4 separate regions of the Homo sapiens genome follow, and all the other regions are linked to region 4. Evidence: promoter capture Hi-C in human tissues and cell types (Jung and others, 2019). All regions are on one chromosome and are shown on one strand. Each heading gives the region's core, a stretch centred on a gene start or on the middle of the fragment in contact. The rest is flanking DNA. Distances are from core to core; before and after follow the strand shown. Region 1 overlaps FAM168A (family with sequence similarity 168 member A). Region 2 overlaps FAM168A (family with sequence similarity 168 member A). Region 3 overlaps FAM168A (family with sequence similarity 168 member A). Region 4 holds the start of RAB6A (RAB6A, member RAS oncogene family).

Region 1 (3,294 bases), core at 273-2,772, 300 kb after region 4:
ACCTCCTTTACCTTTCTTAGATTAGACTTTTCTTCCCTATCTTTCCACTGTTATCATTCAGGTCATTATTACTCTTTCTGGGATTAAGTTGCCTCTTAACTGGACTTCCTAACTCCTTTCATATACCCCTGTCCCCAGTCTGTTCTTTACATAACATAGCCATAATCGTTTTTCTCTCTTGAAAATTTGACATCACTCCAATGCTTAAAACCCTTCAATGACTCTTCACTGTCCTTTGGATAAAGTCCAAACTTCTTAGCTTGCAATAGAAAGTTTTTATGACCTTACCATTCAGGTATCTCCAGCCCATCTCCTGCTCATCCTATTTATCTATATTCTCAGTCCATCTGGTGGCTGGTATTATGTTTTTATTTAGAATTATAAGATGATTAGAGACCATCAAATCCAACCCTGTTCTTAGATGAGAAACCTGAGGTCTAATAAGTGCCTAAGGAAAGCACTTAAGATTCACAGTGGGCCATGTGCCGTGGCTCATACCTGTAATCCCAGCACTTTAAGAGGCTGATGGGGGAGGATCTCTTGAGGCCAGGAGTTTGAGACCAGCCTGAGCAACATGGCGAGACCTCATCTCTATAAAAAAATGTAAAAATTAGCTGGGTGTGGTGGCACCTGCCTGTAGTTCCAGCTACTCTGGAGGCTGAGTTGGGAGGGTCACTTGAGCCCAGGAAGTCAAGGCTTCAGTGAGCCATGCTTGTACCATTGCACCCCAGCCTGGGTGACAAGAGTGGAGACCTTGTCTTAAAAAAAAAAGATTGACAATGAATTCAGTATCTGATTTACTCCTGTATCTCTAATACCCAGCTAGGCCCCTGCATGCCATGAATATTGACTAGTTTTTCAACAAATGGATGGACAGATAGATGTCAAACCTGGAAGTAGAACCCAGACCTCTGGCAGCCAATCTAGTTCTCTTTCTGCTCACCTTATAGCTGCTTTTTAATTTCCAACACACTTAGTTAGATTTCTTTAAACAAGGTAACTCTCTTATCTTCGGTCATTTCCCACCTCTCTGAGTTTCTTCTATAAAGTAGGGATAATAGTGTCTGCTTACTTCAAAAGTGCTTTGAGGGGCTGGGCACAGTGGCTCACGCCTGTAATCCCAGCACTTTGGAAGGCCGAGGTGGGTGGATTACCTGAAGTCAGGAGTTCGAGACCAGCCTGGCCAACATGGTGAAACCCCGTCTCTACTAAAAATACAAAAATTAGCCAGGCATGGTGGCACATTCCTGTAGTCCTAGCTACTGGGGAGGCTGAGGCAGGAGAATCGCTTGAACTCAGGAAGCAGAGGTTGCAGTGAGCTGAGATTGTGCCACTATACTCCAGCCTGGGCAATAGAGTGAGACTTTGTCTCAAAAAAAAAAAAAAAAAAAAAAGCATTAGTAGCCTTTGTTTATTATTCATCATCATTATATCCCCAGTACCTAGCACAGTGACTGGTACAGAGTTGGCTCTCAGTAAATTTTGAAGGAAGAAAGGGGGGAGAAGAAAGAAATAAAGGGAAGGAGATGAGACTCTAATGAATGAAGGAGGTTACAGCAGAGAAGTATGAGATGGGTTTGAGGAAAAGACTCCTGTGATTTGTCTATCCTTGCTAATGAGTAGCCCTCTGATATGGCAAGGAGAGTCTGGGACAGGTAGCCAGTGCGGGAGAGATTTTTTTCTGCTTTGTAGGTGAATAAAAATTTCATTTGGAGGCCGGGTGCGGTGGCTCACGCCTGTAATCCCAGCACTTTGGGAGGCCGAGGTGGGCGGATCACGAGGTCGGGAGATCGAGACCATCCTGGTTACCACGGTGAAACCCCGTCTCTACTAAAAATACAAAAAATTAGCCAGGCATGGTGGTGGGCGCCTGTACTCCCAGTTACTCAGGAGGGTGAGGCAGGAGAATGGTGTGAACCCGGGAGGCGGAGCTTGCAGTGAGTCAAGATTGTGCCACTGCACTCCAGCCTGGGCAACAGAGACTCCGTCTCAAAAAAAAAAAAAAAAAAAAAAATTCATTTGGATTATCTGTTGTGACTGGTCAACCCCTCTGGATAGACCAGATGGAACAGGGAGACTTTTCTGTTTTTGAGTCTTATGGAGACTGAGCAGAGACCCTCAGAGAAAACAAGAGACCCTCTTTCCTTGCCTACTTGGTTTACAGCAATTATTCTTTTTTAGAACAATGATAGTTGAAATTTGACAATTCCTTTGAGCTATTTAGCAATGAAGAGTTGTCTTCAAACCTCTTATATTACCTATGTAGTCAGCCTTAGGCTAGCTCATTTTGAGTGGCAGCTGCTTTGCTCAGGACATTTGACTTTTAAAAACAAAATGTGACCAGCCTGTGCAACATAGTGTGACCTCATTTCTTTTTTTTTTCTTTTTCCTTTTTTTTTTCTTTTTTTGACTCAGAGTCTTGCTCTGTCGCCCAGGCTGGAGTGCAGTGGTGCAATCTCGGCTCACTGCAAGCTCCGCCTCCCAGGTTCACGCCATTCTCCTGCCTCAGCCTCCCGAGTAGCTGAGACTATAGGCGCATGCCACCACGCCCGGCTAATTTTTTTGTATTTTCAGTAGAGACGGGGTTTCACTGTGTTAGCCAGGATGGGTGAGACCTCATTTCTACAAAAAAAAATTTAAAAATTGGCTGGACATGGTGGCACATGCCTGTTGTCCCAGCTACTCAGGAGGCTGAGGTGGGAGGGTTGCTTGAGCCCAGGAGGTTGAGGCTGCAGTGAGCCATGATTACGCCACTGCACTCCAGCCTGGGTGACAGAGCAAGACCCCGTCTATAAAAACAAAACAAAACAAAAACAAAGTTTGACTTTCCAGGACAAATTTTCTCTGAAGCATGTGAGAACAAAGGCTCACAAAACCGCATATAATAATACATAAGAAGCACAATACTTTACAACTTAAAGTTACGATTTGTGATCTCATTTAATCCTTACAACAAGCACTGTGAGGTAGAAATTTCTATTAGAGGCTGGGTGCAGTGGCTCACGCCTGTAATCCCATCACTTTGGGAGGCCAAGGCGGGCGGATCATGAGGTCAGGAGTTTGAGACCAGCCTGGCCAACATAGTGAAACCCCATCTCTACTAAAAGTACAAAAAATTAGCCGGGCGTGGTAGCAGGCACCTGTAATCCCAGCTACTCGGGAGTCTGAGGCAGGAGAATCACTTCAATCCGGGAGGCGGAGGTTGCAGTGAGCCGAGATCGCACCATTGCACTCCAGCCTGGGCGACAGTGCAACGAGACTCCATATCAAAAAAAAGAAAGAAAGAAATTTCTA
Region 2 (3,211 bases), core at 316-2,815, 320 kb after region 4:
AGTCAGATTTTTAGCTCAGAGTGAAGAATTTTCTAACTTCAGAGCTCTCCAGTCGGTGCTTTGACTCACTGAAGAGGTTCTGAGCATACCATCATTAGAAGAGTATGCTGCGGGAGGCTGAGGCAGAAGAATTGCTTGAACCGAGGAGGCAGAGGTTACAGTGAGTTGAGATCGCACCACTGCACTTTAGATTGGGCGATAGAGTGAGACTCTGTCTCAAAAAAAAAAAAAAAAAAAAAGAGTGGCCGGGCGTGGTAGCTCACACCTGTAAATCCCAGCACTTTGGGAGGCCGAGGTGGGTGGATCACGAGGTCAAGAGTTCAATACCAGCTTGGCCAACATGATGAAACCCCATCTCTACTAAGAATACAAAAATTAGCCAGGTGGGGTGGCATGTGCCTGTAATCCCAGCTGCTTGGGAGGCTGAGGCAGGAGAATTGCTTGAACCCAGGAGGCGGAGGTTGCAGTAAGCCGAGATAGCGCCACTGCACTGCAGCCTGGAGACAGAGCAAGACTCCGTCTTGGAAAAAAAAAAAAAGTATGCTGGCAGAGGCTATGCTGCCAGTCATGTGTGCCACTATAAAGGGTATTCCTGTGCTGAGTGACAAGTTGGACTCAATCACCTCTAATACCCCTTCCAACTCTATAATTCAGTGCCTGTGATACTTTTCAATAACACAACCATGACCTTTCCACTGAGTGGAAACAGTAGTTGTTGTTTTATTTCTTTTCTTAAACACAGCCATCTTTGACCAAATTGACTCTCCAGAGTAATTTCCTTTTTTCCTTGGTTTTGAAGATAAAGTAAAAGAATTTTGGCAAAGTAAATGGCAGCCAAATCCAGAGATTTTCTCTGAGTAGACTCATTTTGAGGAGAGGCAGGGAGGTTGGTAGGAATGGGTTCTGTCTCCACTCTCTACTTATTAGCTCTGTAAGAGAAGTCTTAATATCCTCTCTCTAAAATGGAACTAGTAATATATTTTGTTGACTTTGGGTAGAGATTAAATCAGATATAGAAGTGCCTAGCACAGTGGCCAGAACATAATACAGATTCAAAATTACATCCTTCCTCTTGCCCTCTTCTTTATTATCTTGAGAGAATAAAGATTTTTTTTTTGGTCATTGTTTTGGTTTTGATCACCCTAGGGGGTCATTTGCAGGGCAGTTTTCTTTTTAATTGTGAGCTTCAGACCTAAAATGTCTTCATTGCCTAAGTATTCTCCTGCTCACAAAGAAGTAAGCCTCTTTGTCTTTCTGAGCCAGGGAGTTTGTCTTCCTCTGGCCTTTTGATACTCTGCTATTTTAAGCTCCTAAAGGTAAAGTATTTTCAGAAATAGTCCCCTGATTTCTGTTGAAAGTAATTTCTAATTTCCATATTAATCAAAAAATAGCTTTACATTTCTTTAGTCCTAATCCTAGTACCAACAAGAAAAGAGGCTTAGATTGTATTGACATCTATAAAGCAATTAAAATGTACACATCAAAATCCCAGAATACCTGATCACTACTGCAGCCTTTAGGATATAAAGGAAAAAAGCTAACTTGTGTCCATTTATTCTCTTCACTCTTGACCTTCAAAAAATACAAATACAAAAGGGGCAGGCTTGTTTCTAAGGACAAAGTGATAATTATTTGGTAGGTGTGGAAAAGGCATTGCTTTTGGGATTCCCTTCCCAATTCGACCACTGACTTGCTGAATAATCTTAACCAGAAAGTTACTTCACCTCTCAACCTCTATTTGATTAGCTATAAAATGGGAGAAATCACATTAGGATTGATTTGAGGCTCAAATGAAAAGCAAATGCGAAAATATCTTTTGTATGAGAAATGAGTGAAATAGAGACGGTATGTCTTTTCAAGAACTCAGTGTACAGTCATGTGTCACAAGACTGTAGAGATCCTGAGCTCAAGCAATCCTCCTACTTCAGCCTCCCAGAGTGTTGAGATTACAGGTGTGAGCCACCATACCTGACCAGACATAATGTATTAACAGTTATAAAACTCCTGGACTCAGGCAATGCTTGAGATCCTGTAATTAATAAATAAATAAATAAGTAAAGTAAGAAGGGAAGGAAGGAAGGTAAGAAAAGAAGTAAGAAAGGAAGGAAAGAGAGGGAGGGAGGACCAAATAAAGCTCCCTGTAATGCTGCCATTATATAATATCTGCCAAATTCAAGTGAATTAAAAATAATTCCACTTGGAAACATTGAAGGAACATCCTATAATTGCCCCTAAAGTGAAAGACATCTGAAATGACAAAACAGGAGTGTGATTACCTGTGGCTGCACAATTTCTCACATGAAGCTGAGTACAGATTTTGGCTATGAGACTGGATCACCTGGCTTCCCAGATTAGACCCCTGACTTTCTTCTTGAGAAGTAGCACACCTCCAGATTGCTAATTAATCAACAAGTTAGCTACCTCAGTTCTAAAATCAGAAAATGATCAGGGGGTAAAGAGATGAATTTTCTTTGGAATTGGAAAGGATTTAGGGAAAGGCATATTAACAAAGATACATTATTAAAGCTCCAGTATTTACAAATCCCAAAGAAGCTTTTAGGGATTTAGGGATTTAATCTTTGACTTTTAAAACCAGCTTTTCATTGTCAGTCAGAATACCAGTGAGCATTTAACAACTGCAGGAAGCAGTGAGACAGGCACTTATACACTGCTAGAACAAGTACAAATTGATGGTCTTTCTAGAAAACAGTATGGCAAAGTATGTGAAGGTTCTTGGGATGTCACGTCTCTTCAAACCTCCACTATTTCCCTGAATCCCACATCTATTGCCAGGAGCTTGCAGTAGCCTCTCAGCTGATTGCTATGCTTCTCTACCCGCTTATAGTCTGTTTTCAACACATCAATCAGAGTGACCCTTTTCAAACATAAGTCAAAGCATGTTATTCTTCTGCTGAAAACCCTATGAGGTCTTCTCATTTCACTCAGAATAGAAGTCTAAGTCCTCACAGTGGCCTGTAAAGCCCTACATGAACTGGCCAGCCCTTTACCTCTCTGACTTACTCTACTACTACTGCCCCCTCATTTGTTCCATTCCAGCCACACTGGCCTTTTTGCTGTTCCTCCAACATTGTCCCATATGCTGTCACCTTAGGGCCTTTGCACTGACTGTTTTGTCTAAAACACTCCTTCAGCTATCTGCTTAACACTATCATTTCCTTTAAGCCTTTGCAAAAATAATACCTTCTCAATA
Region 3 (3,563 bases), core at 544-3,043, 260 kb after region 4:
ATTGTCTTGGCTATCCAGGGTCTTCTTTGATTCCATATGAAATTTAAAATAGTTTTTTTCTAATTCTGTGAAGAATGTCAGTGAATTGTTTGGGAATAGCATTGAATCTATAAATTATTTTGACAGTGTGGCCATTTTCATTATATTGATTCTTCCTATCCATGAGCATGGAATGTTTTTCCATTTGTTTGTGTCCTCTCTTATTTCCTTGAGCAGTGGTTTGTAGCTATCCTTGAAGAGGTCCTTTACATCCCTTGTTAGCTGTATTCCTAGGTATTTTATTCTCTTTGTAGTGATTGTGAATGGGAGTTAATTCATGATTTGGCTTTCTGCTTGCCTATTGTTGGTGTAAAGGAATGCTTGTGATTTTTGCACATTGATTTTATATCCTGAGACTTTGCTGAAGTTGCTTATCAGTTCAAGAAGTTTTTGGGCTGAGATGATGGGGTTTTCTAAATATAAAATCATGTTGTCTTCAAACAGAGACAACTTGACTTCCTCTCTTCCTATTTGAATATGCTTTATTTCTTTATCTTGTCTGATTGCCCTGGCCAGAACTTCCAATACTATGTTGAATAGGAGTGGTGAGAGAGGGCATCCTTGTCCTGTACTGGTTTTTAAAGGGAATGCTTCCAGCTTTTGCCTGTTGAGTATGATATTGGCTGTGGGTTTGTCATAAATAGTTCTTATTATTTTGAGATATGTTCCATCAATACCTAGTTTACTGAGAGTTTTTAACATGAAGCCATGTTGAATTTTATCAAAGGCCTTTTCTGCATCTATTGAGATAATCATGTGGTTTTTGTCTTTGGATCTGTTTATGTGATGGATTATGTTTGTTGATTTGCATATGTTGAACCAGCCTTGCATCCCAGGGATGAAACCGACTTGATCGTGGTGGATAAGTTTTGTGATGTGCTGCTGGATTCAGTTTGCCAGTATTTTATTGAAGATTTTTGCATTGATGTTCATCAGGGATATTTGGCCTGAAGTTTTCTTTTTTTTGTTGTGTCTCTTCCCAGTTTTGGTATCAGGATGATGATGGCTTCATAAAATGAGGCCTCATAAAATGAGTCCCTCCTTTTCAGTTGTTTAGAATAGTTTCAGGAGGAACAGTACCAGCTCCTCTTTGTACTTCTGGTAGAATTCGGCTGTAAATCCGTGTGGTCCTGGACTTTTTTTGGTTGATAGGCTATTAATTACTGCCTCAATTTCAGACTTCTTATCAGTCTATTCAGGGATCTGAGTTCTTCCTGGTTTAGTCTTGGGAGGGTATATGTGTCCAGGAATTTATCCATTTCTTCTAGATTTTCTAGTTTATTTGTGTAGAGGTGTTTATAGTACTCTCTGATGGTAGTTTGTATTTCTGTGGGATCAGTGGTGATATCCCCTTTGTCATTTTTTATTTTGTCTATTTGATTCTTCTCTCTTCATTAGTCTAGCTAGCAGTCTATCTATTTTGTTAATTTTTTCAGAAAACCAGCTCCTGGATTTGTTGATTTTTTTTTTGAGGGTTTTTTGTGTCTCTAGCTCCTGCAGTTCTTCTCTGATCTTAGTTATTTCTTGTCTTCTGCTAGCCTTTTTTTTTTTTTTTTTCGAGACAAAGCTTTGATCTGTCGCCCAAGCTGGAGTGCAGTGGTGCAATCTCAGCTCACTGCAAGCTCCGCCTCCGGGGTTCATGCCGTTCTCCTGCCTCAGCCTCCTGAGTAGCTGGGACTACAGGCGCCCGCCACCACACCTGGCTAATTTTTTGTACTTTTAATAGAGGCGGGGTTTCACCGTGTTAGCCAGGATGGTCTTGATCTCCTGACCTTGTGATCTGCCCGCCTTGGCCTCCCAAAGTGCTGGGATTACAGGCTTGAGCCACCGCGCCCGGCCTTCTGCTAGCTTTTGGATTAGTTTGCTGTTGCCTCTCTAGCTCTTTTAATTGTGATGTTAGGGTGTCGATTTGAGATCTTTCTAGCTTTCTGATGTGGGCATTTAGTGCTGTAAATTTCCCTCTTAATACTGCTTTAGCTATGTCCCAGAGATTCTGGTACGTTGTCTCTTTGTTCTCATTGGTTTCAAAGAACTTCTTGATTCTGCCTTAATTTCATTATTTACCCAGGAGTCATTCAGGAGCAGGTTGTTCAATTTCCATGAAATTGTGTGGTTTTGAGCGAGTTTCTTAATCCTAAGTTCTATTTGATTGTATTGTGGTCTGAGAGACTGTTTGTTATGATTTCAGTTCTTTTGCTTTTGCTGAGAAGTGTTTTGCTTCCAATTAGTGGTTGATTTTAGAATAAGTGCCATGTGGCACTGAGAGGAATGTATATTCTGTTGATTTAGGGTAGAGTTCTGTAGACGTCTACCAGGTCCACTTGATCCAGAGCTAAGTTCAAGTCCCGAATATCCTTGTTAATTTTCTGTCTCATTGATCTGTCTGATACTGACAGTGGGGTGTTAAAGTCTCCCACTATTATTGTGTGGTAGTCTAAGTATCTTTGTAGGTCTCTAAGAACTTGTTTTATGAATTTGGGTGCTCCTGTATTGGATGCATATATATTCAGAATAGTTAGCACTTCCTGTTGAATTGTTCCCTTTGCCATTATGTAATGCCCTTTTTTGTCTTTTTTGATCTTTGTTGGTTTAAAGCCTGTTTTGTCAGAGACTAGGATTGCAACCCCTGCTTTTTTTTTTTTTGCTTTCCATTTGCTTGGTAAATTTTCTTCCATCCCTTTATTTTGAGGCTGTGTGTGTCTTTGCACATAAGATGGGTCTCCTGAATACAGCACACCAATGGGTCTTGACTCCTTACCCAATTGGCCAGTCTGTGTCTTTTAATTGGGGCATTTAGCCCATTTACATTTAAGGTTAATATTGTTATGTGTGAATTTGATCCTGTCATCATGATGCTGTTTGGTTATTTTGCATACTAGTTGATGCAGTTTCTTCATAGTGTCATTTGTCTTTATATTTTGGTGTGTTTTTACAGTGGCTGGTACTGGTTTTTCCTTTCCATATTTAGTGCTTCTTTCAGCAGCTCTTGCAGGGCAGGCCTGGTGGTAATGAAATCCCTCAGCATTTGCTTGTCTGGAAAGGATTTTATTTCTCCTTAGCTTATGAAGCTTAGTTTGGCTGGATATGAAATTCTGGGTTGAGGCTGGGTGCAGTGGCTCATGCCTGTAATCCCAGCACTTTGGGAGGCCAAGGTGGGTGGATCATGTGGTCAGGAGTTCGAGACCAGCCTGGATAACATGGTGAAACCCTGTCTTCTACTAAAAATACAAAAATTAGCTGGGCATGCTGGTAGGCACCTGTAGTCCCAGTTACTTGGGAGGCTGAGGCAGGAGAATCCCTTGAACCCTGGAGGCAGAGGTTGCAGTGAGCTGGGATCATGCCACTGTACTCTAGCCTGGGTGACAGAGCAAGACTCTGTCTCAAAAAAAAAAAAAAAAAAAAGGAATTCTGGGTTGTAAACTCTTGTCTTTAAGAATGTTGAATATTGGCCCCCAATCTCTTCTGGCTTGAAGAGTTTCTGCTGAGAGGTCCACTGTTAGACTGATGGGCTTCCCTTTGTAGGT
Region 4 (3,348 bases), core at 794-3,293:
TGTCCATGCTACAAGCCAGGTTTTTACCATTTTATTTTAGATGCATGTTCTACCTGCACATGGCTGGGAGAGGAACCAGAAGGGAGTAAATTTTGATAGAGATGGTTTGAGGATATAGCTGTTGTCTTGATAGGCCAGAATAGATGATATTTTAAGAACTTTGGTTCTTCCCTGTAATTTATTCTAGGTCAGCAATTCATCCCTGGGCCTGAGAAGGCACTTTTTCAATCCTGTCATTTCTACAGCTAAGCAAATAACTCCCCAATAATGAGAAAAAGTACATAAATGTTTTGTGAATGATATACACAAATGATATACATTTGTGTATAGACACAAATGTAAGGACATATTTTTTATTATTCACTTAGAAAGTTTTTTTGTTTTTTTTTTTTTTTTTTAAGACAGGGACTTGTTCTGTCACCCAGATTTCAGTGTAGTGGTGCCATACCTCAGCCTCCAACTCCTGGACTCAAGCAATCCTTCTGCTTCAGGCTCCTGAGTAGCCGGAACTACAGGAGCACACCACGATATTCGGCTATTTTATTTTTTGTAGAGATAGTGTCTTGCTTTGTTGCCCAGCCTGGTCTCGAACTCCTGGGCTCAAGCGATTCTACCGCCTCGGCCTCCCAAAGTGCTGGGATTACAGACGTGAGCCACCGCGCCCAGCTGCTTTATGGATTTTTTTTTTTGGAGACAGAGTCTCGCTCTTGTTGCCCAGACTGGAGTGCAATGGTGTGACCTTGGCTCACTGCAACCTCCGCCTCCCGTGTTCAAGCGATTCTCCTGCCTCAGCCTCCCAAGTAGCTGGGATTACAGGCACCCGCCACCACACCACGTTAATTTTTTGTATTTTTAGTAGAGATGGGGTTTCATCATGTTGGCCAAGGCTGGTCTGGAACTCCTGACGTCAGGTGATCCACCCAACTCAGCCTTCCAAAGTGCTGGGATTACAGGGATGAGCCACCACGCCCGGCTTTTTTTTTTTTTTTTTTTTTTTTTTTCTGTTGAGATGGAGTCTCGCTCTGTCGCCAGGCTGGAGTGCAGTGGTGTGATCTCGGCTCACTGCAACCTCCGCCTCCCGGGTTCAAGCGATTCTCCTGCCTCAGCTTCCCGAGTAGCTGGGACTACAGGCGCGCGCCACCACCCCCAGCTAATTTTTGCATTTTTAGTAGAGACAGGGTTTCACCATGTTGGCCAGGATGGTCTCGATCTCTTGACCTCGTGATCCACTCGCCTCCGCCTCCCAAAGTGCTGGGATTACAGCCGTGGGCCACCGCGCCCAGCCCGCTTTATGGATTTTGCAAGTCATTTACTCCCTCTAAGCTTCAGTTTCCTCATCTGCAAAATTGGGAGGCCATGATTCTGGCAGTTATAACATTCCTGGGAGCAATGGAGGAGAATGTTATTTAGTAAGATGCCTGTGAGGAATTATGATGAGAGGATGGAGAAGGTGGGGTGTGTGCAATGGTGAAGAAGGGATCTGAGGACTGTGAGGCACGGCTGAGGGCTCAGGAAAGAGGCTCCCATTACAAATTTTAAGGCTATAGGACCCCACCCACACTTTTTGGGGGATCATATTCCACCTTTGTCCCGGCCCCGCCTCCGCCCCACCCTTCTCCCCCTCCCCTTTCTTTCCTTCCCCTCCCCTCAGGCTGAGAGGCGCCACACTTCTTATGGCCGCCACAGTGCTCCGCTTTCCACAGCTCGAGGGCTGCGCGCGCTCTCACGCTGCCACCTCACTCGCGTGTGGGCTCGCCCTCAGCCCCTTCCGATTGGCTCATTATGTAAGTGACGTAAGGGCTCCAGCCTCCCACTAACTTATCCCTGGCTTGCCCCGCCTCCTCCTGGCTTCTTTTGACGCCAGTGGAAACCTAACCTGCCCCGTCGCCGCCGTGCGGGAGGAGCCGGTAGAGCTGTCCAAACCAGGAAGGCGATGGCGATGGCGGTGGCGCGCACGCATGCACGCACGCACGCACGCCAGCGGCCGGCGGGGCCGCAGGCTCGCGCCCGGGCTCGCCCCGCGCCGCTCCAGAGGCTCGCGCACTCAGCAGGTTGGGCTGCGGCGGCGGCGGCAGCTGTGGAAGCTCAGGCGCTGCGCGTGAGAGGTCCCAGATACGTCTGCGGTTCCGGCTCCGCCACCCTCAGCTTCTCTTCCCCAGGTCTGGGAGCCGAGTGCGGAAGGAGGGAACGGCCCTAGCTTTGGGAAGCCAGAGGACACCCCTGGCTCCTGCCGACACCGCCCTCCTTCCCTTCCCAGCCGCGGGCCTCGCTCGGTGCTAGGCTACTCTGCCGGGAGGCGGCGGCGGCTGCCAGTCTGTGGAGAGTCCTGCTGCCCTCCAGCCGGGCTCCTCCACCGGGCCTTGCAGGGGCCGAGAGAGCTCGGTGCCCGCCCTTCCGCTCGCCTTTTTCGTCAGCTGGCTGGAGCAGCATCGGTCCGGGAGGTCTCTAGGCTGAGGCGGCGGCCGCTCCTCTAGTTCCACAATGTCCACGGGCGGAGACTTCGGGAATCCGCTGAGGAAATTCAAGCTGGTGTTCCTGGGGGAGCAAAGCGGTGAGTGCGTGGCTCCCCTACTCCTGGCAGCTGGCCGCAGCGTCCCCGCACCGCCCCCGGTGCGGCCCTTCCGTCCGCGGAGGCTCCCTGCCCGCCTCGCGTCCGCGCTCGTTGCCACCGCAGCCCTTCCCGATGTGCCCCCCGGTGCCACTGGCTCTTCGCCAGTGGCCGAGTTTTTACCCTGTTCCCCGGGTTCTTCAATCCTCGACTCCCCGGCTCCGTTCCCCGCAGTCCGGCCATCTCCGGTCGATCTGCCCTCCCTCCCCAGACCTCACCCCGCCCAGCCTCTTGTCCATCCCTTTCTTCCTCCGGTCTCGGTCATTGCCCGTACCCCGGCCCCCTTTCTTGAGCCCCACCCTTATTCCTTGCTCTTTTCCCAGTTCCTCAGCTCTGTGAGGCCCACTCAGGGAAGCCCCACTCCCGAGAGCGGGCCCTCTTCAACCTTGGCCAAGGAGGGTGGGATCTGGGCGTTGTTTTCCCCAGAGGCTTGGCCCTGCGAAGTGCTGATGTCGTGGAAGGTGGGAAGGGGTGGTAGTAGAAAAAATTAAATGATTTTCACCTGGGTGGGAAATTAGTCTGGGCCATAGAGGAAACATCTGAATTGGAGACGACTTGAGCATGGGGTGGTTGGGGGTGAAAGGGGTAGCGTCGGCAGTGGAGATTTTTGCCCCTTAGGTTAGATGGGGCTGTGGCTTGTCGGAAAACCTCATTTTGTTCTCTTGACTTTCATCACTGACAATTCTTTTGGCAATGTTGATGATTTTTCAATCTCTGCCAGATGCTATGTCATGATCATT

What was found. The method cuts DNA at HindIII sites, captures the fragments that hold promoters and counts their contacts. A contact is called where the count stands out against the background at its distance.
Region 1: a fragment that was not itself captured here is called in contact with the fragment with the promoter of RAB6A in region 4 in 1 of the 25 tissues and cell types used here (lymphoblastoid cells).
Region 2: a contact is called between a fragment that was not itself captured here and the fragment with the promoter of RAB6A in region 4, in 1 of the 25 tissues and cell types used here (adrenal gland).
Region 3: a fragment that was not itself captured here is called in contact with the fragment with the promoter of RAB6A in region 4 in 1 of the 25 tissues and cell types used here (liver).

Annotation. Positions count from the first base shown.
Region 1 is chr11:73,458,600-73,461,893 of GRCh38, reverse strand. The region is part of intron 2 of FAM168A (family with sequence similarity 168 member A); the gene reads left to right. Among named protein-coding and RNA genes, the nearest start is that of RELT, 84 kb to the right of the region's middle. The HindIII fragment of the contact is 7,164 bases long and covers 1-3,294 here.
Region 2 is chr11:73,434,429-73,437,639 of GRCh38, reverse strand. All of the region lies in intron 2 of FAM168A (family with sequence similarity 168 member A), which reads left to right. Among named protein-coding and RNA genes, the nearest start is that of RELT, 60 kb to the right of the region's middle. The HindIII fragment of the contact is 7,386 bases long and covers 1-3,211 here.
Region 3 is chr11:73,500,135-73,503,697 of GRCh38, reverse strand. All of the region lies in intron 1 of FAM168A (family with sequence similarity 168 member A), which reads left to right. Among named protein-coding and RNA genes, the nearest start is that of FAM168A, 96 kb to the left of the region's middle. The HindIII fragment of the contact is 5,152 bases long and covers 1-3,563 here.
Region 4 is chr11:73,759,769-73,763,116 of GRCh38, reverse strand. RAB6A (RAB6A, member RAS oncogene family) reads left to right here and starts at 2,043. Exons shown (of 8, transcript NM_198896.2): 1 at 2,043-2,551. The coding sequence starts at 2,482. It overlaps LOC124902711 (a long non-coding RNA gene), which reads right to left and starts at 1,959. Exons shown (of 2, transcript XR_007062775.1): 1 at 1,877-1,959; 2 at 17-1,380. RefSeq lists silencers at 1,436-1,625, 1,786-2,095 and an enhancer at 2,392-2,892. The HindIII fragment of the contact is 11,651 bases long and covers 480-3,348 here.